Linked DNA regions of Homo sapiens: region 2 is linked to region 1. The links are contacts of gene promoters, found by promoter capture Hi-C in blood cells and fetal thymus (Javierre and others, 2016). All regions are on one chromosome and are shown on one strand. The core of a region is centred on a gene start or on the middle of the fragment in contact, and the rest is flanking DNA. Distances in the headings are between cores, read along the strand shown. Region 1 holds the start of IGSF9B (immunoglobulin superfamily member 9B). Region 2 overlaps JAM3 (junctional adhesion molecule 3).

What was found. The method cuts DNA at HindIII sites, captures the fragments that hold promoters and counts their contacts. A CHiCAGO score of 5 or more calls a contact.
Region 2: a contact is called between a fragment that was not itself captured here and the fragment with the promoter of IGSF9B in region 1, in 7 of 17 cell types (total CD4 T cells, naive CD4 T cells, non-activated CD4 T cells and 4 more). The highest score is 10.9, in total CD4 T cells.

Annotation. Positions count from the first base shown.
Region 1 is chr11:133,953,764-133,960,465 of GRCh38, forward strand. IGSF9B (immunoglobulin superfamily member 9B) reads right to left here and starts at 3,205. Exons shown (of 20, transcript NM_001277285.4): 1 at 2,928-3,205. The coding sequence starts at 2,991. RefSeq lists a silencer at 3,034-3,383. The HindIII fragment of the contact is 2,603 bases long and covers 1,488-4,090 here.
Region 2 is chr11:134,077,067-134,083,768 of GRCh38, forward strand. The region is part of intron 1 of JAM3 (junctional adhesion molecule 3); the gene reads left to right. Among named protein-coding and RNA genes, the nearest start is that of JAM3, 11 kb to the left of the region's middle. The HindIII fragment of the contact is 9,046 bases long and covers 1-6,702 here.

The sequences.
Region 1 (6,702 bases), core at 1,955-4,454:
CCTCCCACAGAGTAGGAACTCCCCCGGGCTGGCTCAGCAGCCGTCTGAGATACTGAGTGCACACCAATCACTGTCTTCCAGGTTCTGGGTACCACTCCAGCCCCTCTCTTCTCCACACTTCCCCAACCTGTCCACTGACCTTAATCACCTCCCAGGCACACACACTCAAAGTCAAAAGGAGGAGCCCATTCCAACCTCTGTCCCGCACCCGAGGGCTGATGGAGTCGGGTCCCAACACAACATCATCCCTTTCCCCCTCTGCCAGAGCAGCCCCTGCTATGGCCAAATCCTAAGGGTGGCATCTCAAAGTCCCTCCTGCTGAGGGACTGCCCCAGAAGTCACCTCTGCCAGTCAGGGAACAGCTGAGCTCTCACAGGGAGACTCAGCAGCATGTGGACACTGGCTGGTGCTGCTCACACGAGCGGGCGCCCACCCGCTCTCTCCAGAGGCTGTGTGTTGCAAGCCCTCACTTCCCGGGCTGTGTCCTTCCATAAACCTCTGGCCACCAACAACACTCCAGCTTTGGAGACCTTGCAAAGGACTTCCGAGCAGCTTTGAGGCCCGCACATCCTGCACACGTGTCCCTGGGATGCCAGGGACAAGAGGTTCTGCCCAGACAAGGTCAGCCCAGAAAGGGGTCTTACTTCCTGACACAGGCAGCCTTCTGAACTTCCCCGCAACACATTCTCAGCTCCTAGTGCCCTGAATGGCCCAAGGGAAAGAAATTGAGGAGGATCTTGGAATCCCAGGGACACTGAGAAAATAATGTTAATGTTTACTGAGCACGTACTATATAACAGGTAGTTGTTTTGTTTCCTTATAACACTCATGTCCACCTAAAAACCCTAAAAGTACATGCTATTGGCACATTTTCTATTGAAGCAAGTGACATTTAGAGAGGTTGAGAATTTGTCCAAGGTCACAGGGTCGGCAGGTGACACAGCCAGAATCTGAATCCCAGTCATATGGCTCTAGACCTAGGTCCTTAACTACCACACACAGAGCAATTGAGGCTAAGAAAGACCCCAAGACCAGCAAGGTCACCCTCTGCTTCCAGACAGGGGTACATGTCCAGCCATTCCAGACAGAAGGACCCCTCTGCACCCTGAAAGAGGGCATAACCTTCATGCCAGGCAGCCTTCAATTTTGGGAAGCCCTTCCTTCTATCTTGCGATTCTGCGTGTTGCTGCAGTATAAACTCACATTCCTTTATTCTGGGCTGAAACTTGCAAAGAAGTCCATTGCCCACCCTGACTTAGGTTCGGAGGCTATTTCAGAGCCTTCCTTCAGCGTCTCTTTTCTATTCAAAGATCCCAGCTCATCCTTTTGTGCTTTCAGGGACAGTCCCATAGCAGGAACATACCAAAAACGGGAGGGGAGGAGGATGCGGGCATTGGAAGACGGCAAGGAAATGGGGGAGAGGATGAGGCTACAGGCAGACTGTCAAGCGCAGCCCGATGCACCTCACATCCACCCCCCGTTCCGTAAGCTTCCGCCATCACCCTTGCCTCAGTGTTCCCACCTGACAAATGAAGAGTTTTAAAACCGTCCGGACCAACATGTCAGTTAACAAAATCACCCTTCGCTTCGCCCTCTGCTCGTTCTGTTTTCAGACACCACCACCCCCCTCAGAAGCAGAGGCGACATATTCATTCCATTCCGGAAAGTTTCCTGAAGCACGCCCCCCTGCACAGACGAGTGACGAGGGGACCCCGTGAGAGGCGCCTCCAGCCCACCCGGCGCCCCATGCCGCTGGGAGAGGGTTCTCTGTCGGCGAGTCCTGCCTGCTGACTCCCACCCACAGCGGGTTCTCTCCCGCCGCCATCTCCTCCGGCTTGGTGAACTTGCCCGCAGCCGGGTCGTGTCTGCGCGCTGACAGCCCTGAGCTCACAGTCCTGGCACCCTCCAGGCTCCGCTCCCACTTCCATACAAGGGCCGAGAGCCGGGGGTGCCACCCAGAGGCTTGTAGGTCGCTCTGCCCATCTCCAAAGCAAAAGCCCGCGCGCTCACGCACGCATCACCCAACTCGGTGGCTCCCCCCTTGCGTCTCCCCCAGCTCAGACCCAGGAAAGCGGAAAGAGAAAATCCCCCCTCCGCTCGGATTCACAGCGTGGGGACCCCCCCTTCCCCGCCCCTCCCCTCCCCCGCCGCCGCCCCCAGCCAGCTCTGCCTCGCAGCCTGGGGAGGGCGGCGTGGGGCCCGCGCGGCTGCGGCGCGCTCCCGGGGAACTTTTGCCTGGCCGGGGCCCAGGTGCGGCTGAGAGGCGCGGGGGCCGGCGGGGTCCAGCCAAAAGCGGACACACCTCGAAGCTGGCCTCATCAATCCTCCTCTCACCGGGCGCCCCTGCTAGGGGGATCCGACCTCCAGCTGCCAAGATGTGTGGGCAGGAGGGGCGCGAGCGGAGCGATGGACGCCCGCAGGGCCGCGCGAACCCGGGGCCTTAGACGCGGGTGCCGCCAGTCCCAGGGATCCTCCGGGTCGCGCCTCCCTGCAGGCGCTCCTCGCGGCGCGGGGCTCTAGCGTGCTGCAGCCTGCCCGGAGACCGCAAACTCCCGCAGCCAGAGTTTCCCGCAGCTCTGGGAGGCGGCCGCCGGGCAGGAGGCGACGGGCTAGGCGCGCCGGTGTGCACCGTGGGGCCCGTGGTGGGCGAAGTCGACCCAGGTTCCACTGCGTCCTTTCCCCGAGTGCCCGGCAGCCCGTGGGCTCTGGCCCCTTCCCGCCCGCCCCTCCAGCCCACGGCCCCCAGGCCCTCCCCGGCAATGCTCCCGGGCCGCCTGGCCCGCGTCGGAGCCCAAGCCTCACCCGCGGGAAGGCGCGCCGGGGAGCTGGGGAACCGGGGGGCCAAGGAGCCGGGAAACCGAGGGGCCGGGCGCGAGGGGCCGAGGGCGCCGGGAGGGGCAGGGGAGGGACGCCGCACTTCAACTCACCTTCAGCCGCAAGCCCTCGGGTGCCGATCACACTTGCTATGAAAGTGGCCACATACCAAATCATAGTACTACCGCGCCAGCCCGGAGCCTCATCCTATCGCAAAGTGCTCCCGCGCCCGCACGCGCCTCGCGCCCGAGCGCCCGCCTCGCGCCCGCCTCGCGCCGCCTACGCCCCGCGCCGGTGCTCCTGCAGCCCGGGTGGCCAGCTCTCCATCCCTCCTAGGCTCCGCTCGGCTCGGCGCGCGCCTCCCCGGCCCCGGCGCAGCGGCACCTGCACTACTCGCCCGGGCGGAGCGCAGCCAGGTCCACGGTGAAGCCTAGCCGGGCCGGGCCTCCGGAACCGCCCCCGCCGCCCGCCTATTGGGCGCCGCCCGCAAGCCGGGGGTCCGATTGGCTCAGCCTTCCGCCCGTCGCGGCGCGAAGGAGGCGAGCCCATTTCAAGGTGCGTTGAAGTGTGGCGAGCACAGAGCCGCAGAATCATGCGCATTGCCGGGGAGAAGGTGGTATAGCGTCTCTGCCCGCTTCTCTCTCGGCTCACACTGCGTGGCAAGTTTCTGGTGAGGGAAATGGTAGCTTCTAACGGGACCCTGGCGGGTCTCAATTACCCCGGACAGGTCTGAGGGAAGTGGAGCCCCCGCCCACTCATGGAACCCAACATCCGGTTTCCATCCGGCAAAAAGCAGTTCCCGAGAGGACCATGCTGATTCTATGATGGGGAAACCCAGGAGCCGGCGGCCCGGGAGAGCCGGGGAACGTCCTTCGCCGGAGATCTTTTCAAAGAGGTCACGCGCCGCCTCCCCACCCCGTCTCCCTCCGCACCCAGACACGTCCCCAGAGCAGCGCACCACCCCCTCCAAACGTGATGCAGACCGGGGGATGACTAAAATGACCTCTCAAAGTCGCTAAGATTTAGAGTGAGTCATTGGCTCAGCTGCGAAGTGCCACAGACCCCTCAGGAACACTCGTGCACACACACTCCACCCCCAGTGCTGGTCACTGCTGCTCATCATTACTGAATCCCGACTCCAAGCAGTCAAAGTTGGGTCTTTTTCCCACTTCTCCTGATAAAGGCTGCTTCCTCACGCACATGGTTCCTCCCCTCTCCACCTTACTCGGAGCCCAGCCCCGACTCGGCCGCATGAAACCAAGATGGGTTTGGGGGAAGCTTTAGGAGTCTGGGATGGAGGAGACCCAGGGAAAGGGAAGGAGCTTCTCATCCTACAGAGGAATGTAAATAGGAAACTGGAAGGTCTTCGTATGTTCCAGTCTCCCTACCCTAGCCTGTCTGCTTCCCCTCCCCCAATACAGTTGTATTTGCAGAAGAAATAAATGAGTGTCATGGAAACATCTACTACAAACAATCACCTCACACCAGCGCTCAGAGGCTGCAGTGAAGATGTTTGTTCTTTCAAGGAGTGAAGGCAGTGGTAAGAATCACACCGCTCCCTGGGATGGGCTGTTGGCCAAGGAAGGAAGGCAGAGGGTCAGCGAGCGAGAGCTCAGGAATTTCATCCTCTCAAAGCACTCGTTAGCCACAAAGCCCTGGCTCCAGGACATGAAGCTCCCAAAACAACAAGAAGGAGACTTGCTTCTGGGAAAGCGTGCACACAGGTACACACACATGCACAAAAAGTGGCCTTGAACACCGGAGGTGGAGCATTCCCTGACACCGGAAGCCTCTTAGCTCACCGCCAGCTGGGAGGCAGAAAGAGGCCCCCAACAGAGCAGTCAGTGAGCACATGGATAAAGGTCGAGGGCCTGGATAGATCCAGAGAACCAGGACTGTTGAATAACCTTCTACCCTACCCACCCCTCCACCTGTGCAAACACACTCAAGATGCATAACTTGGGGCCATCTCTCCCTGAGCCATGATTTTGGTTCTCTTCTTGGGCAAAGATGCCTTTCTGGGGACAATGAAGTGAGCTGCTCCAGGTCTCATTGATGCAGTGATCTCCAGGTCTCATTGATGCAGTGATTTCCAGGTGGCATGACCCAGAATAACTCCACCCCCAACACACACACACACATATACATACACACACACTTACACACTTTCCCAGGGCCCCGGGACTGTAAAGACATATTGGAATCCATTTGCAGAATTGGTCATAACAGGATCCTTCTCCTCCCACAACCTCTAAGCAGCTAACTGTGGCCTAGAGAAAAGTGCCGGATCCACAAAGCCTGGCCCTAGTTCCTCACCATTGTTAGGTATGGAGTGGGAAACATCAGGTCTCAGAGAAACCCTCTCCTAGGGGCCTGCAGGGCAAGGAAAAAGATGGAGCCACTCTCACCACCCATCTTGATTGCTTTGTCTGGCCATCCATTTGTCCTACTCAGGGTTCTGCCTCCTGCTAGGAAAGTAGAACTGTCTGTCAGAATGGATGGCGGGCATGGAGGCTCATGCCAGTAGTCTCAGCTCCTCAGGAGGCTGAAGCAGGAGTATTGCCTGAGCACAGGAGTTCTAGGCTCAGTGATCATGCCACTGCACTCCAGCCTGGGTGACAGAATGAGACCCTGTTAAAAAACAAACAAAAACAACAACAAAAGTGTCTGTCAAATTGGAAAGAAAAAAACACGTAACAAGCTTTAGAACATGAGTTGGGTTGGGAAGGGGTTCGAAGGATCTATCTAAAGAGGAGAACAAATTTCTTCTGGATAATTCTACTGGAAACAGAGTGGAACAAGGGATGAAGGCAGAGAGGAAGGGGAAGAAAATTAAGATACAAAGGGAAAAGTTCGTCATCATCATCATCATTAGACATGTCTCAACTGGGTTTCAGATCAGCTAAAGAGAGATATACTGTATCAGCTTACAGTGAGGAGTGAGTCTGATCAAATCTTTTCCTCTTGGCGTATGGCTGAGCTTTGGACCCAGAAAGGATGGTTGCCCCTTCCTAGAATAGACACATCCAGTTGAGTGTTCAAGGGGAGCATGGACCCCAGATGTCCAAAAGGGACATGAGGGAGGAACATGAGCCACTTCCCTGCGCAGCTCCTAGGTGTACCTGAATGTCATCGATGTCACTAATAAATGCAGTAATATATCCAGGAATGCTATGTATATCAGATACGGGAGTGTCTGTCATCTTCTTTTAAGAGGTACTGACTTTTTGGAAATACAAAACAATAGTCTTATCAGTGTGTCTATGAAAAAAAACCAAATGTAGCCACCTACCTGCACATCCCAGAGGCCTTTGGAGGACATGTGAGAAAGGGGGCTGACAGGAGCTTCAAGTGTAGGAGAAGAGGAAACTATCCTCCTTCCCTCCTCATAGTCATCGAACAAGGAGGACTCAAAAACAATAGTTCACTTGTCTGTCACTTCTCACCTTCCTCAGTGGTTCCAGCCCTCATTGCAGAATCTAGGGTAGAACAATTGTTGGGACAGCTGCTTGTGAAAAGGAGAGGCAGTTCTAAATAAAAGCAGTTTACTCAACACAAACACCAAAGAGCGTGTTTAGTGTTTACATAAATAGGGAACTGTATCAGTTGTCTTACCGTGTAAAAACCCAGCCCAAAATATCATGGCTTAAAGCAAGAAGGCTCATTCATTTGCTCTTGAATCCGCAATTTGGACACTGGCTGGTGAGGACAGCTCTTCTCTACTTCATGTGGCATCAGCTCCACTGGGGTGTGGACCTTTCTCCTTTCAGGATGGCTTACTCACGTGGCTAGCAGGTTGACGCTGGCTGTTAGCCTGGGCTGCCAGCAAAGGGCTGTGATTCTTCCTCAAGTGGGCCTCTCTGCAGGCTGCCTGGGCTTCCTCAAAGC
Region 2 (6,702 bases), core at 1,158-3,657, 120 kb after region 1:
TTAGGTGATCTGCCCACCTTGGCCTCCTAAAGTGCTGGGATTACATGCATGAGGCACTGCACCCGGCCTGTTTTTTGATTATTTAATAGCCATTCTGACTGGTGTGAGATGGCATTTCGTTGTGGTTTGGATTTGCATCTCTCTGATGATGAGCGATGTTGAGCATTTTTTTGTATGTGTGTTGGCCACATACATGTCTTTTGAGAAGTATCTGTTTATGTCTTGCCCACTTTTTAATGGGATTATTTTTTTCTTAAGTTCCTTATAGATTCTGGATATTAGTGTGTCAAGGATGCCTTTTTTTTTTTTTTCTTGAGACAGAGTTTCGCTTTTGTTGCCCAGGCTGGAGTGCAATGGCGTGATCTCGGCTCACTGCAACCTCCGCCTCCTGGGTTCAAGTGATTCTCCTGCTTCAGCCTCCCGAGTAGCTGGGGTTACAGGATCCTGCCACCATGCCTAGCTAATTTTTGTATTTTTAGTAGAGACAGGGTTTCTCCATGTTGGCCAAGCTGGTCTCGAACTCTGGACCTCAGGTGATCCACTCGCCTCAGCCTCCTAAAGTGCAAGCCACCGTGGCTGGCGCCTTTTTTTTTTTTTTTTTTTTTTTGAAACGGAGTTTTGCTCTTTCGCCCATGCTGGAATGCAGTGGAAATCTCGGCTCGGAAATCACTGCAACCTCAAGTGATTCTCCTGCCTCAGCCTCCTGAGTAGCTGGGATTACAGGTGCCCGCCACCATGCCACGCCTGGCTAATTTTTGTATTTTTAGTAGAGACAGTGTTTCACCATGTTGGCCAGGCTGGTCTTGAACTCCTGACCACAGGTGATCCGCCCGCCTCGGCTTCCCAAAGTGCTGAGATTACAGGCGTGAGGCACCGCGCCCGGCCAAGGATGCTTTTTCTTGAGAGTGCAGCCTTCCACTGAGTGACAGTGCCTGTCTCTGGGGTGACTAGCTGTTTCAGGATCCCTGGCATTACTTAAAAATCTCAGGCTCTGCTTTCCTCTTGCCTACCTTTCTGCTGGTCCAAGGGCTCAGTGTCCCCACTGGAGTGTTTTTTTATTTGTTTGTTTTTAAGCTGGAGTCTCGCTCTGTTGCCCAGGCTGGAGGGCAGTGGCATGATCTCGGCCCACTGCAACCACCACCTTCCAAGTTCAAGCGATTCTCCCGCCTCAGCCTCCTGAGTAGCTGGGATTACAGGCATGTGCCACCACACCCGGCTAATTTTTGTATTTTTAGTAGAGACGGGGTATCGCCATGTTGGCCAGGCTAGTCTCAAACTCCTGACCTCAGGTGATCCACCTGCCTTGATCTCCCAAAATGCTGGGATTACAGGTGTGAGCCACCGCACCTGGCCCACTGAAGTGTTAAAATGACCCTTTGCTCTCAGTTTAACACTCCTACCCATCTTTCTGCTCTCTGGTTTTAGCCTACAGCTATATTGGTTTGTCCTTTTAAAGATTTCCCCGACTTCCTTGTGAGACATGGAATAAAAACTATGACTTATGTGAGATCTCGTTGTTGGAGCAGAAGGGCCCTCCAGGGCATCTAATCAGCTACACTTGTGAAAACAGGAATTGGAGCTTTACTTCACCTGTTTCCCCTCTCTTAATGGAAGAGTCACACACCCTTCTTTAAGTGTTCTTGTTATTAGGGTAATGTTTTTGTTTTCCTTTTTTAAATACAAAATTATGGGCCGAGCACAGTGGCTCACGCCTGTAATCCCAGCACTTTGGGAGGCCAAGGCAGGTGGATCACCTGAGGTCGGGAGTTCGAGACCAGCCTGACCAACATGGAGAAACCCTGTCTCTACTAAAAATAAAAAAATTAGCCTGGTATGGTGACATGCGCCTGTAATCCCAGCTGCTTGGGAGGCTGAGGCAGGAGAATTGCTTGAACCTGGGAGGTGGAGGTTGTGGTGAGCCAAGATCACGCCATTGTACTCCAGCCTGGGCAGTAAGAGCGAAACTCTGTTACAAAACAAAACAGAATTATGAACTTAAATATTTGCTTTTTTTTTCATCGCATACACCCCCAGGAAGTTCTGATATTCTTGAGGGTTGGGGTTGTATGCCTCTCCCTAAGAATCACTGCTTTAAGGATGGCGCTCTGTTATTTAAAAAATATACCAAACCCTACAACTATAATCTCTGTCCTTGAATTAGTTTGTCTGAAAAGCAAACATCTATCATTAACTTAAACTTTGGAGAATTATAGCTATTCCACACTAGACAGCCACCTGAAACAGCACCTACTTAGTCTACTAGTAACAGCTATAGATGAAGACATTCAGGGACAAAATACAAAGGTAACTTTACCGAGCTTTCCAGCTGAAATCTGGATTCCGTTCTCCACAGGATGAAGTGCTGGTTTACTGAAAGGTGCCGTCTGATGTAATGTGTGGACAAAAACCACCCACTGCATCTCTGGAAGGCTCCGTTGTTTGCAGCCTTTCAGATAGTTTTCTGGGTGAAAAAAAAAAGCACTGTATCGTGGGTGTTAGGCATTTTGGATTCATTTCCTAGCTTTGCATGTGATTCATTTTTTAGACCTTGGGGAAATAATATTGGTTGTAATCCAAATCACTTGAAAGTAATTTAAACCCCACCTCTCTCACACTACCACCAAAACATCCACATTTCTTTCCCTTTCTTATTATATAACCCACCTTAGATATATGAGTTTTAGATCCAAAGGAGTGACTTTGTAGGCATATAATTTGTAACTGATTAATTGAATTAGTTCATATTTGTTAATTATAATTGCATTTGAAGGTTTTGAAAATGTAGTCAACAGAAATATCTTCCTCTTCTGAAAATTTAGGTGTGTTTTGTAGCCAGGTAAACTTGGTTTGAAGCCTTCCTCTATCGAGAGAGGTTGGAAAAATTTATTCAGAACCCTCGTTTTTGTTTGTTTGTTTTGTTTTGTTCTTTTTTTTGTTTTTTAAATCTACAGCTTTACTTACTAGATCTAGTGTTTTAAGAATTCCTGTGTTTGTTTACCATGAAGAAAAAATGAATAACCAATTGGTTGGGTTGTTATTTTTAATTCAATCTGATTTCTAAGCATCAGATATGAAGTTTTCACTCTGACCATACTTGGTCTAGCTGATAAGTCCACTGGTGATAAAGAATGAGCTTAGAACCTTTGCTGTGAATCACTAAAGCAGTAGCTGAGTAAAGAAAAATTCTCAATCTTTTATTTGCCAGACACTGTTTTAGACCTTGGGGTAACGTCAGTGAAATAGCTTAGGTTTTGACTACTTCATAGGAAAAGATGAAATCTATGGACTCCTCCAAAAAGTGCTTTTATGCATGATATGGTTTGGCTCTGTGTCCCCACCCAAATCTTGTAGCTCCCATAATTTCCTCATGTTGTGGGAGGGACCCAGTGGGAGATAATTGAATCATGGGGTGGGTCTTTCCCATGCTGTTCTTGTGATCGTTAGTAAGTCTCTTGAGATCTGATCGGTTTAAAAAGGGGAGTTTTCCTGCACAAGCTCTCTTCTCTTGTCTGTCGCCATATGAGACATGCCTTTTACCTTCTGCCGTGATTGTGAGGCCTCCCCAACCACGTGGAACTGTTTAAGTCTAATAAACCTCTTTCTTTTGTAAATTGCCCAGTCTCGGGTATGTCTTTATCAGCAGCATGAAAATAGATTAAAAGAGTAAACTGGTACCAGTAGAGTGGGGCGCTACTGAAAATACCTGAAAATGTGGAAGAGACTTTGGAACTGGGTAATAGGCAGAGGTTGGAACAGTTTGGAGGGCTCAGAAGAAGACAAGAAAATGTGGGAAAGTTTGGAACTCGGTAGAGACTTGTTGAATGGTTTTTACCAAAATGCTGATATTGATATGGATAATGAAGTCCAGGCTGGGGTGGTCTCAGATGGAGATTAGGAACTTGTTGGGAACTGGAGTAAAGGTGACTCTTGGTATATTTTAGCTAAGAGTCTGGTGGCATTTTGCCCCTGCCCTAGAGATTTGTGCAACTTTGAACTTGAGAGAGGTGATTTAGGGTATCTAGCGGAAGAAATTTCTAAGCAGGAAAACATTCAAGAGTTGACTTGGGTGCTGTTAAAGGCATTCAGTTTTATAAGAGAAGCAGAGCATAAAAGTTCAGAAAATTTGCAGCTGGACAATGTGATATTAAAGAAAATCTTGTTTTCCGAAGAGAAATTCAAGCTGGCTGCAGAAATTTGCATAAGTAACAAGGAGCCAAATGTTAATCCCCAAGACAATGGGGAAAATGTCTTCAGGGCATGTCAGAGGTCTTCACAGCCACCCCTCCCATCACAGGCCTGGAGGCCTAGGAGGAAAAAGTGGTTTCATGGGCCGGGCCCAGGGTCCCTGTGCTGTATGCTGCCTATAGACTTGGTGCCCTGCCTTCCAGCCACTCTAGCCATGGCTGAAAGGGGCCAGCATAGAGCTGAGGCCATGGCTTCAGAGGGTGCAAGCCCCAAGCCTTGCAGCTTCCACGTGGTGTTGAGCCTGCGAGTGCACAGAAGGTCAAGAATTGAGGTTTGGGAACCTTCACCTAGATTTCAGAGGATGTATGAAAATGCCTGGATGTCCAGGCAGAAGTTTGCTGCAGGGGTGGGGCTCTCATAGAGATCATCTGCTAGGGCAGTGCAGAAGGGAAATGTGGGGTCAGATCCCCTACACAGAGTCCCTACTGGGGTACTGCCTAGTGGAGCTGTGAGAAGAGGGCCACCATCCTCCAGACCCCAGAATGATAGATCCACTGACAGCTTGCACTGTGCACCTGGAAAAGCCACAGACACTGAACACCAGCCCGTGAGAGCAGCGGGGAGCAAGGCTGTATCCTGCAAAAACCACAGGTGGGTAGCTGCCCAAGACCATGGGAACCCACCTCTTTTATCAGTGTGACCTGGATATGAGACTTGGAGTCAAAGGAGATCATTTTGGAGCTTTAAGATTTGACTGCCTTGTTGGATTTCAGACTTGCATGGGGCCTATCGCCCCTTTGTCTTGGCCAATTTCTCCCAATCATTTTGGAGCTTTAAGACTTGACTGCCTTGTTGGATTTCGGACTTGCATGGGGCCTATAGCCCCTTTGTCTTGGCCAATTTCTCCCATTTGGAATGGCTTTATTTACCTAATGCCTATACCACATTGTATCTGGGAAGTAACTAACTTGCTTTTGATTTTACAGGTTCATAGGCAGAAGGGACTTGCTTTGTCTCAGATGAGACTTTGGACTGTGGACTTTTGAGTTAATGCTGAAATGAGCTAAACTTTTGGGGGACTGTTGGGAAGGTATGATTGGTTTTGAAATGTGAGGACATGAGATTTGGGAGGGGCCAGGGGTGGAATGATATGGTTTGGCTCTGTGTTCCCACCCAAATCTCATCTTGTAGCTCCCATAATTTCCTTGTAATGTGGGGGGGAACCGATGGGAGATAATGGAATCATGGGGTGGGTCTTTCTTGTGCTGTTCTCATGATAGTGAATCAGTTTTATGAGATCTGATGGTTTCAAAAAGGGAAGTTTCCCTATACAAGCTCTTCTCTTGTCTGCCGCCGTGTGAGATATGCCTTTCACCTTCTGCCATGGTTATGAGGCCTTCCTAGCCATGTGGAACTGTAACTATGATAAACCTATTTCTTTTGCAAATTGCCCAGTCTCGGGTATGTCTTTATCAGCAGCACGAAAATGGACTAATACAATGCATATACATGAAAAGTTTTATATACTATTTTGGGGGATTTATAACCCCCCCAGAAGACCATTTATGCACCACCTCAGGTTGAGAAGCCTGCTTTAGGGCCAGGATCCCTATAGAGGACACATATTTTTAGAGTGTCTGCTGAAATAGATGCTAACTGCATGTAAACTTCAAGAGTGGTATGCAAAAGCATTATGTTATTCTCTTATTTATTCTTTTCATGAAGTCTCTTGAAGCCTGACTTTTCTATTTTATGGATGATGACTATTAGTGTCAAACATCTGGTCATTTTCTATGTATATTTCCAGCTTAAGTTACTCTCTAGAGGTAGGTCAGAGATGAGACTTTGATTTAAATTGAAAACAGATTATGCATGTAATTTTAGAGATGCTTACTTCTGTGATTTTCACAGTGTTTCATCCTGTTAGTACAGCTTGTGCAGACTTAAGGCATATGAAAAATAGGACAAAATGCTGAGATGAATTGGGTGGAATTCCTCTGTCATCTACCTCCGGTGTCCATTTACAGCAGATCGCTCCCTCCCTTTCCCTATTTCTCCCTCACTCTTTCTCTCTCCAACACAGGCAATAGTGGTGAGAGAAGGTTTTTATAACATTGGATGAGGGATTTGGACTTTATGGAAGCCAGAACAAATATTTTCTCCTTTACTACCCTGGGGCTAGTATCCCACATGCTGTTTGCAAATTGCAAAAAACATTCCTTCAAGTGAGTTTGGAGTCAGGTAACTTTTTGAGGAGGAGTGTTTTTGTTTTGCTCTCTCCTGAACTCACAGATTTTACTCTGTGTGCGTTTCTTGTCAAGTACATTTCCTACATGCAGAGTAAGTAAAATCTGTTAAAACTTTGGTTGTCATTATTCTAATGTGTGAACAGCATCTTTTAGCTCACATTAAAAAAAAACACCAAAAAACCTCTTCTAATGAAACCTTGAGGAAGAAAATTAGCTGGAGTTTAGAGGCTCTGATTTTAAGCCTCCATGATGGGTCCTTTTCTATACC